5 separate regions of the Homo sapiens genome follow, and all the other regions are linked to region 1. Evidence: promoter capture Hi-C in 16 types of primary human blood cells and fetal thymus (Javierre and others, 2016). All regions are on one chromosome and are shown on one strand. The core of a region is centred on a gene start or on the middle of the fragment in contact, and the rest is flanking DNA. Distances in the headings are between cores, read along the strand shown. Region 1 holds the start of TEAD1 (TEA domain transcription factor 1). Region 2 overlaps TEAD1 (TEA domain transcription factor 1). Region 3 overlaps TEAD1 (TEA domain transcription factor 1). Region 4 overlaps TEAD1 (TEA domain transcription factor 1). Region 5 overlaps TEAD1 (TEA domain transcription factor 1).

Region 1 (2,623 bases), core at 54-2,553:
GAAGAAAAGTCACAGAAGTTAAACTTTCTTTAAAGCGGGACTCTGGACTTTTGAAAACAAGTGTTGCTGTTACGAACAAAGACTAGAAGTGTACCCAGATTTTCTCCCCCCCGGGGATCATTTCTCTTCCAATCAACAAACAAATCCCCCAGTATTTCCTACCGAAAGGGAAGGGAAGTTTTCCAGGGAGAGTCTCCTCCTGGGTTTGGTGGTAACTGCGACTCAGTCTTTTTTGGACACAATGTTTCTGCTGACTCCTGAAAATTTTCCACTTGAATGTGCAATGAAGCGGCGGCGGCAGCGGCAGCAACAGTCCTGGAGAAGCGGCAAAGACGACCGTGCCCTTTTTCATCTTTGAGAAGAAGGAGCGAACCCCCCGCCAGCGGCACAAGTCTGCGCAGACCCGGGCCGGCCTCGGGGGTACCCGGCGCCGGGGGGCGGCGGCGAAAGCAGGGGGGTGCAGGCCGGCTCCGGGCTCCGAGGCGGCGGCTCTGCCCGCCCGCGCTCGCTCCGAACTTCTGGCTCCCCAGCGCACCCCGTCCAAGGCGCCCGAGGGTGTGTGCGTGTGTGCGCGTGCAGGCGGCGGGAGAGGGGGCGCGCGGGGGGCGCGGCGCGGCCGGCCGGGGGCCGCCTGTTGCCGCGCGGGCTCCCAGCGCGCGGCCCAACTTGGCGTCCTGGCAAGTCGCGCGGCGGCGCCCGGCCGCTCACCTCGGAGGGGGCGCGGGGAGGCGGGTGTGGGGGCCCGGCCGCGGCCCTCCGCGTGCCCGCCCGCCGTCGCACACAAAGCAGAGCCCGCAAAGAAAGAGCGGCCCGCGAGGGACGCGCCGCCGGCCCCCCGCTGCCCCGTGCGCCCCCCGCACCCCAGCATCCGCCCCGCGCGCCAACTTACCTCGGCCCAGGGAGCCACCGCAGCGCCCGGCGAGTCCGAGGCAAACTTCGGCGCCGCTTCCCCCGCCCTCTGCTCGGTGCCCGGCTCCCTCCCCGGCTCCCGGTCCCTGGGCCCGGCCACCCCACCCCTGCCTAGCACCGCTCCTGCCCCGGGGCCGGCTGGCGCGCTGGGCTGCTGCCCGCGCTCCGGGCAAAGGTGGAGGGGTGGGGGGGCGTCACTGCATGGCCTGTGCCTGGACGCGGCCGCCCCGGGCCCGGGCCCCGCCGCGCGGAATGGCCCGCAGGGTGGAAGCGAGTCTGCAAAGTGCTTGGTGGGCGCCCGCGGCGGGCGGCGGGGCCGCGGCGGCGGCAGCAGAGGCTCGGCTCGGCTCAGGCGGCGCGGCGCGGCGCGAGCGATGCTAAGAATGTTCGGAATGAGGACAGGAATGAAATGAACGCCAGGACCGAACTCGCTCCGGAGGGGTGGGGCCTCGGTGACGTCATGCGGCCTGCCGCCCGGGGCTGGAGGCGGGGCCTGCCGCCGCCGGTGACGTCATGGGGAATCGGGGCGGACCGGCGCGGCTGCTTCGCCGTTGGGGCGCGGGCTTTCGGCAGCTGGGCGGAGTCTCGCGCCCACGGGGGAGCGTGGCTCGCGCGGGAGCCGCCCTCCGTCTCCCGGCGCGGGCTCCGGGCTTTGTCCCGAGCCGGGGCGGGGCGGGGCGGGGCGGACGGGAGCTGCGCGGCTTGGAAGTCCCTGCGCTCGCGCGAAGAACTCTGGAAGCCTGGGTTTCTTCCAGGGGGCAGGCGCCGAGGCGGGAGTTGCGCGCGACGCGCCTACCGTGCCTCAGTTTCCCTAGTCCGGGACGCGGAAGCGCGGGTGACTGCGTTGAGTGCTCCCGGACTCGCGGAAGTCTGCAAGTGTAGGGTAGAGAAGTTGCCTTTCTGGTGATGCAGATTGTTGCTCTCGAGCGCGGTGGACGCCGTCTCCGGGCCAGATTCCCAGCCTGCCATTTCTTCTCTTCCCTTTCACTTTTATAAAAGTTCACAGCTCTCACTCAAGTCGAAATCTGTCTTACGGTTGGGAAAGGAAAACCTTTAGCTTAGCAAAGAAGGATAATTACAGAGTTCGTAATAAACCTGCCCTGCTAGCAAGGTCTTCTCCAAGTCAGTTAAAAAACTAAGTTCACTCATCTCTGCCGGTTGTACTTTTCAAAAGTAACTTCCTAAACTTTGAAATGCTGCATCCGGCGACTTTAAGTTAGCCCTTTCATTATTGAGAAACTTCATTTCATTATTAAAGGAATCATTTTAACCCTGCCATTGGAGGTAGTGACGCAAAAGTGACATAGACGCAGTCGGTAAATCAGAAAACGGGTAAAATCGACCCACTGGGGACAGAACCGTCTAAAGTTTCGGGTGATTGTTATAATTATTTAACAAACTGCAAAGCAGTTCCCGCACAGTGGACCTCATTCGTTCTAGGCACTTGGCTCTCTTTTCCAGCTGAGGCCTCAGGATTAAATAACAACATATTTTGTGCCCGAGGAATCCCTATATCCCTATATATGGGTAACTGAGGAGACTAGACTGTGACTGAGTGCAACACATTTCTACAAAACATAACTTTTACTAATACATTGTTTTCCTTTTTTTTAATTTTTTTTTTATTTTATTTTTGGAGACAGGATCTTGCTCTGTCACCTAGGCTAGAATGCAATGGTGCGATCTGGGCTCGCTGCAGCCTCGACTCCCTGGA
Region 2 (2,623 bases), core at 62-2,561, 230 kb before region 1:
GTGACACAGACCAAGAAACCTGGGGATGCAGAGGCTCCATGGGCCTCAGAACCAAATAGGGTTCACTGAGAAACTCCATCCGCCTTCTTTATCTAGCAGTCCAAGTCTGCTCACATTCCAAGTTAAAACTGGCAATTCTCCAACTACTGTCCCTGAGTACTAATCTATTCCACAGGAAGTCCCAACTAACAGAAGGCTTGGGCAAAGCTGAGTATTATACATGGGTTAAGAATGTACAGTCCATGGAACTTAATCACTGGGACCTGCTTTAAAAAAAAAAAGATTGTGTGGGTCTAGACTCATCCTACTCAAGCACAAAACACTGCCCAAGGCAAACTAGCTATGATACTGCGCAAGTGCCTCTCAAGTCTCTAAAATGGGGACAGTGATGGCATTCACTTCACTGGATTGTTACAGGGTTTAAATAAGACACTCCACAGACTTCATCAGGGATCCTAGATCTAACAAGAATAAGCAGTCAATAAAATCTAGCTATTATTCTTTTAATAAGACCTCTCTTAGAGATTCACAGTAAATACTAGCGTATTAAAAGCAGTGCCATTGACTGGCCATGGTGGCTCATGCCTTTAATATCAGCACTTTGGAAGGCCAAGGAGGGAAACTCATTCAAGCCCAAGAGTTTGAGACCAGCCTGGACAACACAGTGAGACATCTCTACCAGAAAAAAAAAAAAAATCACCAGGTGTGGTGGTGCATGCCTGTAGTTCCAGCTACCTGGGAGGCTAAAGCAGGAGGATCACTTGAGCCTGGAAGATCGAAGGTGTAATGGAGCTATGATCATGCTGTTGCACTCCAGCCTGGGCAACACAGTAAGACCTTGTCTCTTAAAAAGGCACTTCCATAAAGAAACATTTTTAAACATATAATCTAGAGTTTCTCAAACTCAGTTGGTCACAAAACCCTATGAAATATATCCTGAAGGAATACTGGTTTAAATCTATAACCTGCTACCCACATTTGGATCTCTGGCCACCATGCCAAAAGACAGGAGGCTGGACACTCCATCTGATGCCAGTGTTGCATATAAGGGGCAGTGCAACTGAGGCCAGTATCTTTTGGAGAGGGCCAGGTCCCTCTCCTGTTCAACATCAGAGTGGTATCTTTTCCAAAGCTTCAAAAATCCTAAAAGGTATCAGGTGAGGTGAAAGAGAGAACCCTATCAAGCTCTGACATGGATGCAGCTGCATGGACTAGCCACCTGGCAGGTAAGACAGAAGCTGGGAGATACTATAAAACAACAGGGTCTGCCTCAGAAGGAAGAAATTATTTTTAAAAAGGTTAAAAGTAAAAGCCATTGTGTTAGGGAAGTGAGATTATGGGGGTGGGAAGAGGTGAGATTATAAGGGTAGGAGGGAACATCTTTGAGCTTTTTATACATTTTTTCAAATGTTGCCACATCACTTTTTCCAATTATAAACAACAGCCCATGGAAATGTATGAGACACAGTCACAGCTGCTAAGAAGCTTCTAGTCTTTCTAGTCTCAGTGGGCAAAAGTAAAAAAGAATAACATGGGCAAAGGTGTGGGCACAGACGTTGGTATAAAGGCAATCAGAAACACAAAATGGAATGGGGAGTACAGGGCAAAAGGCATTGTTTATTACCTAGACAACTGGCTATGTATCCGTCCATCCAACCCTGATTAACAACCTCTGCTTACAGCTAGCTCTCAGACCGCCCCAGTTCCAGAAGGCACCGCTTCTGTCCATTCTAGCGCCTTCTGCAAGGAGTGAGTTTATGGAAGGCATGAGATACAAGCCTTAGGGACTCACTGAGCTGAATCCCAGTCTCCCTTTAGGCTCCTCACTCCTAGCTGTTCTGCCTCGCTAGCTGCCCCTGGGCCAGGTCAGAGCTGGGGTGAAGTTGAGAAGCTGGGAAACTTGAAGTCTTTGTGCTTAACATCAAAATGTCCCTGCACTGCACTGCTGGAAATGGGAACCACGGCCCTGACATCTACAGGTCAAGAAGGTGAATGGGGGTAAAATCTACCACATACCAATGGGGACCATGAAGGTACAGCTGAAAAGCAAGGTGCTGAGTGTAAAGCACGAAAGCCTTGGAGCCAGACACAAACCTGAAACCTCAAGACTTCTCATATGTGCAATGGGGATATAATACCTGTAATATTTGCAACATATGTGAATATTAAAGGAGCTAATGCTCAGAAGGTGCTTGGCATAGGACCTGCCATATAAGAAATGTTTGATAGGGGCCAGGATTGGTGGCTCACACCTGTAATCCCAGCACTTGGGAGGCTGAGGAGGGTGGATCACTTGAGGTCAGGAGTTCGAGACCAGCCTGGCCAACACGGAGAAACCCCATCTCTACTAAAAATACAAAAATTAGCCGGGTGTGGTGGCACACACCTGTAATCCCAGCTACTCGGGAGGCTGAGGCAGGAGAATTGCTTGAACCCAGGAGACGGAGGCTGCAGTGAGCCAAGATCACACCACTGCACTCCAGCCTGAGCATCAGAGAGATACTCCGTCTCAAAAAAAAAAAAAAGTGTTCATGTTCAATAAATTATAGCTAAGATGACCATTGTTATAGTTTATTATCATGTGACATTCACTAGATCCTGAGGTAGAAGCAAAATAACTTTC
Region 3 (2,623 bases), core at 89-2,588, 200 kb before region 1:
GCTCACCAATATTTGAACTGACTGATTTATCCATGTACCCTCCCTTCATTCTGAAACATTCCCTGCATAATATTCTGCGTCAACAGCAGTGAAGACCCAGCAAGGCAGAGGACAAAGCTTGAACAAGGCCAGGAGCTCCAAGCGGCAATGCAGGCAGCTTCTCTGCAGCGAGCTTCCCTGCTGCGATTGGTGTGGGCTGGAAAGGGGGCATGACATAGAGGAGGGAAAGAGCAGCCTCAGGAGTCAAGCAACCCTGGGGCTGATTCTTGACATCACTATCCATTCCACTATGATCCCAGCTATCCAAACTCTTGTTTTGCTACTGAATAACCTCAGCTTTTTCATCTGCAAAATGGCAATGACAATAAGCAGCATTTAAGATTACCTGGAGGATTGAGATTATAACATAATGCTTCTCAGCCTTTGGTAGGTGTCAAAATGTAAATGTTAATAGAATACCTTGTCCCTTTAGGGGCTAGTTGCCCCTGAAGACAGAGGGACAGAGACCAAGGGCCAGGAAAAAGATAAAGAGAGAAGACGCCTGAGCCCAACCCAGAAAGGCACATTTAATTCCATGTCTTCAGGGACTCAGAATTCCTTCCTCTTCTGATTTTCTCCCTCTTCCTTTTCCTTTTTTCTTTTCTTCCTCTCCTCCTCCTTCTCCTCCCCCTCCCTTTCTCTCTAGCTCTCTGCCTCCCTTCCCTCCTTACTTTCACCACTTTAGACTCAGTTATCAGTTGACAAGGTAGCCTTTGCCCTCTCACATACCTGACCCACATGACAAGAAATGGAGGTGGGAGGCTTAACACTGGCACATGCCAACCCCAACCCCAGCAGCTGTCATTACTGGACTGAGCTCATGACTTACCCCCGGCGCCCCTGGGAAGGTCGGGCGTGGAATCCCAGGCAGCCCCAGCTTGTTATGAATGGCAGTGGCCGAGACGATCTGGGCTGAGGACATGGCCGCCATGTGCTGCAGGGCCTTATCCTTTGCAGTCTGATCCTTGAAGGTGACAGTGACACACCAACTTAATACATAACGCATGGCTACCAGGCAGGTTACACAGGCACAGCCACGAGCACATGGACTAAAATACAGAGCCACAAAATAGGCCAAAAAAAGCAAACATGCATGGATAAATAACACAGCCAGAAGGCTAAACCACACTCAACCTACCGTACCTCTCAACATTTACTGGGAAGACCCAATGGGGCAAGGCTTTTTTTAGGGATTAAATCCATTTTCCAACAGAATGTGAAGCCTCTCAGAAGAGTGGACAACGTATTTATTTAGCTTGTCAGCTTCCAGAAGATTTCTCCAATTACTTAAAACATTTAAGGAAGAAAAAAAAATAAAGGCCCTGCTTTTAAGCAAACGGATGGGAGGAGGAGTGAGAGAAGAGATGTAGCTGTGGACTGGGGTAGGACCGTCCACAGAGCTCGAGGAGCCCTATCTGTGTGTCCTGACTGTCACAGGGCCATGGTCCCAGGAGCTGCTGGGGTCATGCAAGGCCTGGAAGCCCTGCAGACACCTGGCTGGAGAGGCTCAGAAGCAGCGGGGGTTGGGGGTAACAGGGCCAAGCAGCATGCTGGCGGGGTGCATGCTTTCTCAGGTATCCCCGCCGTGGGGCTAAGGCTACGTGGGTTCGTACTGAAGCCAGGAGCCTAGGGGATGCTACAGGTACGTGGTTTCTCCTTTTCCTGAACGGGTCTTTTCTAGGAAAGCCAAGGCTAACAACACAAAGCTAGCCAAAAAAGTCTGCCAAGCACAGCTAAAATACAGAATACTCAGTTTGGTGAAAATACTTACCATGCTTGTTACCTGGATACAATAATAAACAATTTGTTAAAAGGATTGCATAAAAAGGGATTTTTTTTCTTCTTTGGTTAAAAAAAAAACATATATATATGTGTATATATACATATGTATATATGTACACAAACATATAATACTTGGGAACAATAAAATGCATAGGGGTGTGGGCCTTTTCACATTTTAGGAAGAAAAGGTGATCCAGATGGCTATCTAGAAAGGCAATGATTGAGAAGGGCACCCAACAACAGCAACAATAAAAAACTACCCCTCAACTCCTTTGCACTGGTTCTGTGGCTTCCCCAGGACAGACAGAGAAATAGCCTCCTGGTATGAGACAGGCCCGGTGGGCACAGGCAGGGCTTTGAGCCTCGTAGGCATATAAAGGCTACCGGTGCCAATAGAGGGTCTATATTCCAGGCCCAAATGCCATCAAAGCAAAAACAAAATGGTGACATCAAAATAAAAAGAGTGCTTTCCACCTCCAGGGAACGTCAAAGGGAGCTTCAGGCTAAGACACCAAGTACCAGCAGAGAGGGTGCTTCAATGCTTACTGATATAACCAAAGGTGATGAAAAAAACACATCAAGGCATCAAAAGCAAGGCCAAAGGAGTTTTTAAAAAATCAAAGCTCATGAACAACTGCTAAGGGCTTCTAAGAAAGATGTGCTAGGTGTTCCCAGGGTGTAGATACTACTTTGCCCTATAACTGTCAGGAAGACAATGTGAATTTCCAAAAAGCTTACATTAACCTTTGAAAAAGAGCCAATAAAGAAAAAGGGAAAGGGGAAGACCAGGTGTGGCTGCTCA
Region 4 (2,623 bases), core at 88-2,587, 190 kb before region 1:
CTGGGATTACAGGCGTGCGCCATCACGCCCAGCTAATTTTGTATTTTTAGTAGAGACAGGGTTTCTCCATGTTGGTCAGGCTGGTCTCGAACCCCCGACCTCAGGTGATCCACCCGCCTTGGCCTCCTTAAGTGCTGGGATTACAGGCATGAGCCACCGCACCCAGCTGAAATTTATCTTTTTAAGATGTGCCTTTTTGTCTGTTTGTATGCTGTGGGTGGTGGGTCACTCATATAAGCAACAAATACAGACAAGGATTAGTCTGGGACTAAACAAACCCAGTTCTCTTCTAGTCTTTGGTTTTTCATATTCACATTCATATTCACTTTCCTTCTTATTCAAGTTTCTACTCATAGTTTACTCCAGCTAAAATCACAGCCACAAGAGAACGAACGAGCTGCTGTGGCCACGGAAGCCGGACAATGACAAGAAGCTAACAGTACGAAGGCAGACACCCCCTAAAGGTAGTCAGTGAAAAAAATGACTCAATCTCCTCCAAGTTATATAACCTTCTGGGGAAAGAACAATGCCCAAAAGTATAAACAAAAACCTTCTAGCCCTATCCCACCAGGAAACTGAGAAGTCTCAGACAACCTGACTTCAGAAAACCATGATAGGAAAAAATATCCCCAGAAGCTAAGCAGAGAATGTATTACCAAAATACCACGTGAAATAAAAACCACTCATACAAGACATGGGTTCTTCTAAGCAGGTCCTATTTACGACTTCAACTTGCTCTAATACCAGGAACTGAAATTATTTCTACATACTTTCTACAGTAAATGGAAAACCACCATTTCATAGCACTACTGTTGGCTGGCTTTGTATCAGCTCAGCTCTATCCTTGTGAAAAATTCCTTTGGTCAAGAACAAGTCTGAAGCTTGCTGCTGTGGCATTCACTCATGTGCTTCACCAGCCTGAGACCATTGTGCTAGATTCTATTTCTCCTTCAAGGCCTCACTTGGATGTCACTCCCTTGGGGAAGTCTTCTCTAATTGCCCAACTAGGTTTGGTTGCCTTGTTCTACACCCCCATGGTGGCAAAAACTGTACTTCTTCCTAGGATGTACCCAAACTGTAACTGTATTTATAACTTTATAGTTAGTTGTAAAATTTGTGTTTGTTGTCTTACTTCCTCCCAGATATACTGCATACTTGAAGAGGGGAAGAACTCTGTCTTCTTCCTCAATGTCCCCCTAGCACCTAGCACACTGCTGGGCACAGAGAAAAGAATGAATGAGGAAATAACACAGCCTCTGCTGAAAGGAAGTGACCATATCCCCCAGATCTTCCCTAGCAGAGTAAAGAACTGGAAACACTGATGAAGACGAACATCAAAATGTCCTTAGGGAAATCTTGTCTGAGAATTGCGAAGACTCTCTCATCACTGCCTAGAATGTCCTAGAGTCATGGCTCTGTCCACCACCTGCCAGTGCTGGGACTGTGCAGGACATGGTCATCACTGGAAGGCAAAGGAATCATGAAATCTGGGGGCTAGAAAGTACCCCTAGGTCATCCATTCGCATTCCTGAAAGTCCTCATAAGCCTTAGTCAGCACTTCTAAAATTGAGGAAGTAGCCCATTCTATCTTAGAACATATTTAAGAATAAGAAGACCCTCCTTTTGGGGGTCTGCTTTAACTTTCATCCCCAGATCCTTCCTGTTCCTCTTAACAAGAAGTCCAGTCCCTTATTTATTTAACTGCCTTTCAGATATTAACAGCAGCTCTGGGGTCCTCTTGGAGTTGTACACAAGCTAAACCTCCTGTGTTACTTTGTTATCTGACAAGCTTTGGAACACTCCCACACACCATCCTGTGACCATCCTTTGTCTGTCTTCCTTTCAAAGCTTGGAGTCCAGAACTGTGGCAGTGCTCCTGCTATAGCATCAGAGTCAGTTTATTACCTCTCTCATCCTAAATACTCTACCTCTGTTAATGCAGCCAAACACTGCATTAAATTTTTAAGGAGCACAATAAATTATCAATATATGCCAACTTAAACTCCTAGGTCTTTTTCATACGGGCTCGTCTTCTGATATGTCCCTACCCCTGTTTCCAGTCTTTTTAATGCATAGCTGAGATTTTCAGACCTCAAAACAGAACCTTACATTTTTTCTACTCCATTTCATCCCCTTAGATTCAGTCTATCATTCCTGCCTGCAAGATCTTCTCAGATCCTGTGAACCCTTTTACCACAGGACAAGAACCTCTAAATTCAGTTTTGAGGATTGCTTTTCTAAGCATTCTCTTTCAAACTTTTGAGAACTACCAATATCCCCTGTAGTATCATTGGATCTACTTCTCCATCTCTCAGATGGTTGTACAGATTTTGCAATTTGTCTTGAAGGCTCGCTGACAACAGAGCCCAGCTAGGAGTACCTAATTACGAGAAGCCAGAGCTAAATGACAATGTCTGCAGACAAGCCAAGCATCCTCCAACCTGGGGCCTCACTGTGCATCCTGTTCAGGGCTATTTGAGCGGCCAAGGCGAAATAGATCCAGGGCTCTGTATTACATACAATTTTGTCCGAACCTTGTCCAGATGACAAAAATGTCTCCTACCCTCAAACTTGTTTATTTTCTGGGAAAACAGACAGAATACCTTGATAGATGTGACACATA
Region 5 (2,623 bases), core at 89-2,588, 150 kb before region 1:
AAGAGGAAAGAGAAAAGGGGAGGGAGAAGATCTAAGGCAGAGGGGAGGCAGACAGCGGAGGAGGTAGGTAAAGTGAGAGAACGAGCTGACATGTGTGTTCCATGAAATGCCTTATCAATGCTCTATTGATAAAAGCATTCATATCAATGCTAATACTGGATAATTCATATCCGGCCATAGGTTCCACACAGGTTGTTGATCAATAGTTTACAAATACATGAAATTGGATCTGGGCATTTTTTTATAAACCCATTTTTCATTTTTTTCCATAATCTTTAATTAAGATGTTCCTACACTATAGAGTCAAAAAATAAAAGTCATGGTCCTCCAGAAGAGGTCATAGTTTCCGACTGCATGCTCAGGGAACCCCCAATGAAGGTATCATTTGTACTCCCATTTAATAGATAAAAAGGCTGAGAAACTAAGCGCTGACAAAGGTTAACTCTCCATGTCCACATTATGATACAATTATGAACAAAAATATTCCCCCACAGTGCTTTCCATTTCTAAATGCTTTCACCTGTATCATTTCATGTGATCCAATTAAACATTATTAATGATGAAGACTCAGAAAGGTTTTGGGAGGAGAACAGGGTCACAGGGCAAGAAAGTGATGGAACTGGGGCCAGAATTCAAAACTCTGAACTTCTCGTTTTCATATAAGAAATGGCAAATCACTGATCCAAAAGAATCAGGTGCTACTAAAGGAGCATCTCAGACATTTCTACTCAACAACACACCATACACAGGCCCTTGAAAAGCCAAGTATCCCACACAGGATCTGGCTCTGGGCAGCAACAGAGAAGTGGACAATTGAATGGGGCTCTGCTTCTTGAAGGCCTGGACAGCAGCTGGATCCACCTTTCCCAGTTTCAGGGCAGACAGGCTGGTGAACAGGCCATGGCAAAAACTAAACAAGCATGCAGACAGGCATAGAGCCCCCAAAGTGCTGCAAACACTTCCCTTGCCTTAAAGCCCTTTGTCATCAGCAGCAGCTCCGGAAGTTACAGCAGACTGGGATGTACAATATGCCTTCTTTCTGGGGTCCTAGGTTTTTCTCCAGACTTACTCGTCATCTTAAAATTGTTCGCTTTGATTTATTTAAGTTAATGTACCTCAATGGCACAACAAAATCATGACAATAATAAAGATATTTTAATTTGGGGAAACAGCACTCACAACCCCACAGCCTGCACAGGCCAAGGGTTTTTCTTTGTCCGGGTTCCCTTCTAGTCCTGTCCCCTGAAACAGTAGCCATGATCACAGAATAAGCACTACTTTGTATTCTACGTTTTTTGTATAATCGCATTTCCTCTCTCAACCCAACCATGTCTGATGACCCTGGCAAGTTCCTACTCCAAAGTCTTCTTTTAGGGTGTTATAATTTCATCACCAACGTAGACAACTGATCTCAAACAGGCTCCGTGACATGTCTGACCTGTAACTCCTAAGATCTGAGATCATGGTTTGGGTGAGAAGGAGAACGCTTTGGGGATGAGAGAAGAAGAAAGGAAAAACAACTTTGCTTTTCTTCTCAGGAGACAAAGTGCTATTAGAGACTAAAACTGTGGATGCCACTGTGGGTGGGTGGGGTGGGAGGTGCCTATGGCTTTAGGGCTACACAGCCATGATGCTGCCATATGGATGAAACCACTCTCCACTTCCCCACAGCAACAGTGTCTAGCGGGTTGAAAAAAATTACTGTATGGCAAGAGTCCTGAGTATACATTATTCAAACCAGATCACGTCCCACTCCCCATACATACTTATCCACTTAAAACCTTTGCTGTGTGGCTCTGCACTGATGGAGAGGTTTATATTCCACAGTATGGCACACAGTGGACCCCCATGACCTGCCACCACCTCCCCTTCACCTTCCCACCCTCCCTCCCCACAACTCCCTGCCCCAGGCCCTGAGCTCCAACCACCCAGTCTCTGCCCACCCAGCCCATTCTGTTTCTCCACCTCTAATCCCAGGAGGTGTGAGAAACTGTCCATGCCCTCCAAGAGCTGACTCACAATCGGGGAAAAAGAAAAAGGCTCCAAGTCTATGTTTATCATGAAAATCAAGAAGCTATTTTGTTATCTATGAAATAACATCTTTTAAATGCATTACTGCAAATGGTTTAAAACTGGCCAACGTATTACAGAATAAGACCGCTTTTAAGACTTTGTTACCGGCCGGGCTTGGTGGTTCACGCCTGTAATCCCAGCACTTTGGGAGACCGAGGCGGGCGGATCAAAAGGTCAGGAGATCAAGACCATCCTGGCTAACATGGTGAAACCCCGTCTCTACTAAAAATACAAAAAAAAATTAGCCGGGCTTGGTGGCGGGCGCCTGTAGTCCCAGCTACTTGGGAGGCTGAGGCAGGAGAATGGCGTGAACCTGGAGACGGAGCTTGCAGTGAGCCGAGATCGCGCCACTACACTCCAGCCTGGGTGACAGAGCGAGACTCCATCTCAAAACAAAAAACAAAAAACTTTGTTACCGTGAAACACAACACACACACACATACAAGTGCATAAGGCATAAATGGACTGTTTAAATGAAGGGGTTACCAAGTGAATATTTATATAGGTAACTAATTTTTTTAATTAAAAGAATCATTTAAAGCATTTCAGA

Evidence for each region. The method cuts DNA at HindIII sites, captures the fragments that hold promoters and counts their contacts. A CHiCAGO score of 5 or more calls a contact.
Region 2: a fragment that was not itself captured here is called in contact with the fragment with the promoter of TEAD1 in region 1 in 1 of 17 cell types (endothelial precursors); the score reaches 9.0 in endothelial precursors.
Region 3: a contact is called between a fragment that was not itself captured here and the fragment with the promoter of TEAD1 in region 1, in 1 of 17 cell types (endothelial precursors). The highest score is 6.8, in endothelial precursors.
Region 4: a contact is called between a fragment that was not itself captured here and the fragment with the promoter of TEAD1 in region 1, in 1 of 17 cell types (endothelial precursors). The highest score is 6.0, in endothelial precursors.
Region 5: a contact is called between a fragment that was not itself captured here and the fragment with the promoter of TEAD1 in region 1, in 1 of 17 cell types (endothelial precursors). The highest score is 5.2, in endothelial precursors.

Annotation. Positions count from the first base shown.
Region 1 is chr11:12,673,101-12,675,723 of GRCh38, reverse strand. It overlaps TEAD1 (TEA domain transcription factor 1), which reads right to left and starts at 1,303. Exons shown (of 13, transcript NM_021961.6): 1 at 890-1,303; 2 at 163-315. RefSeq lists an enhancer at 1-476 and a silencer at 1,312-1,611. The HindIII fragment of the contact is 11,683 bases long and covers 1-2,623 here.
Region 2 is chr11:12,898,301-12,900,923 of GRCh38, reverse strand. The region is part of intron 9 of TEAD1 (TEA domain transcription factor 1); the gene reads right to left. Among named protein-coding and RNA genes, the nearest start is that of TEAD1-AS1, 23 kb to the left of the region's middle. The HindIII fragment of the contact is 353 bases long and covers 1,135-1,487 here.
Region 3 is chr11:12,878,088-12,880,710 of GRCh38, reverse strand. It overlaps TEAD1 (TEA domain transcription factor 1), which reads right to left. Exons shown (of 13, transcript NM_021961.6): 6 at 869-1,003. Among named protein-coding and RNA genes, the nearest start is that of TEAD1-AS1, 44 kb to the left of the region's middle. RefSeq lists an enhancer at 1-164. The HindIII fragment of the contact is 2,437 bases long and covers 120-2,556 here.
Region 4 is chr11:12,859,250-12,861,872 of GRCh38, reverse strand. All of the region lies in intron 3 of TEAD1 (TEA domain transcription factor 1), which reads right to left. Among named protein-coding and RNA genes, the nearest start is that of TEAD1-AS1, 62 kb to the left of the region's middle. The HindIII fragment of the contact is 908 bases long and covers 884-1,791 here.
Region 5 is chr11:12,819,307-12,821,929 of GRCh38, reverse strand. All of the region lies in intron 3 of TEAD1 (TEA domain transcription factor 1), which reads right to left. Among named protein-coding and RNA genes, the nearest start is that of TEAD1-AS1, 100 kb to the left of the region's middle. The HindIII fragment of the contact is 3,806 bases long and covers 1-2,623 here.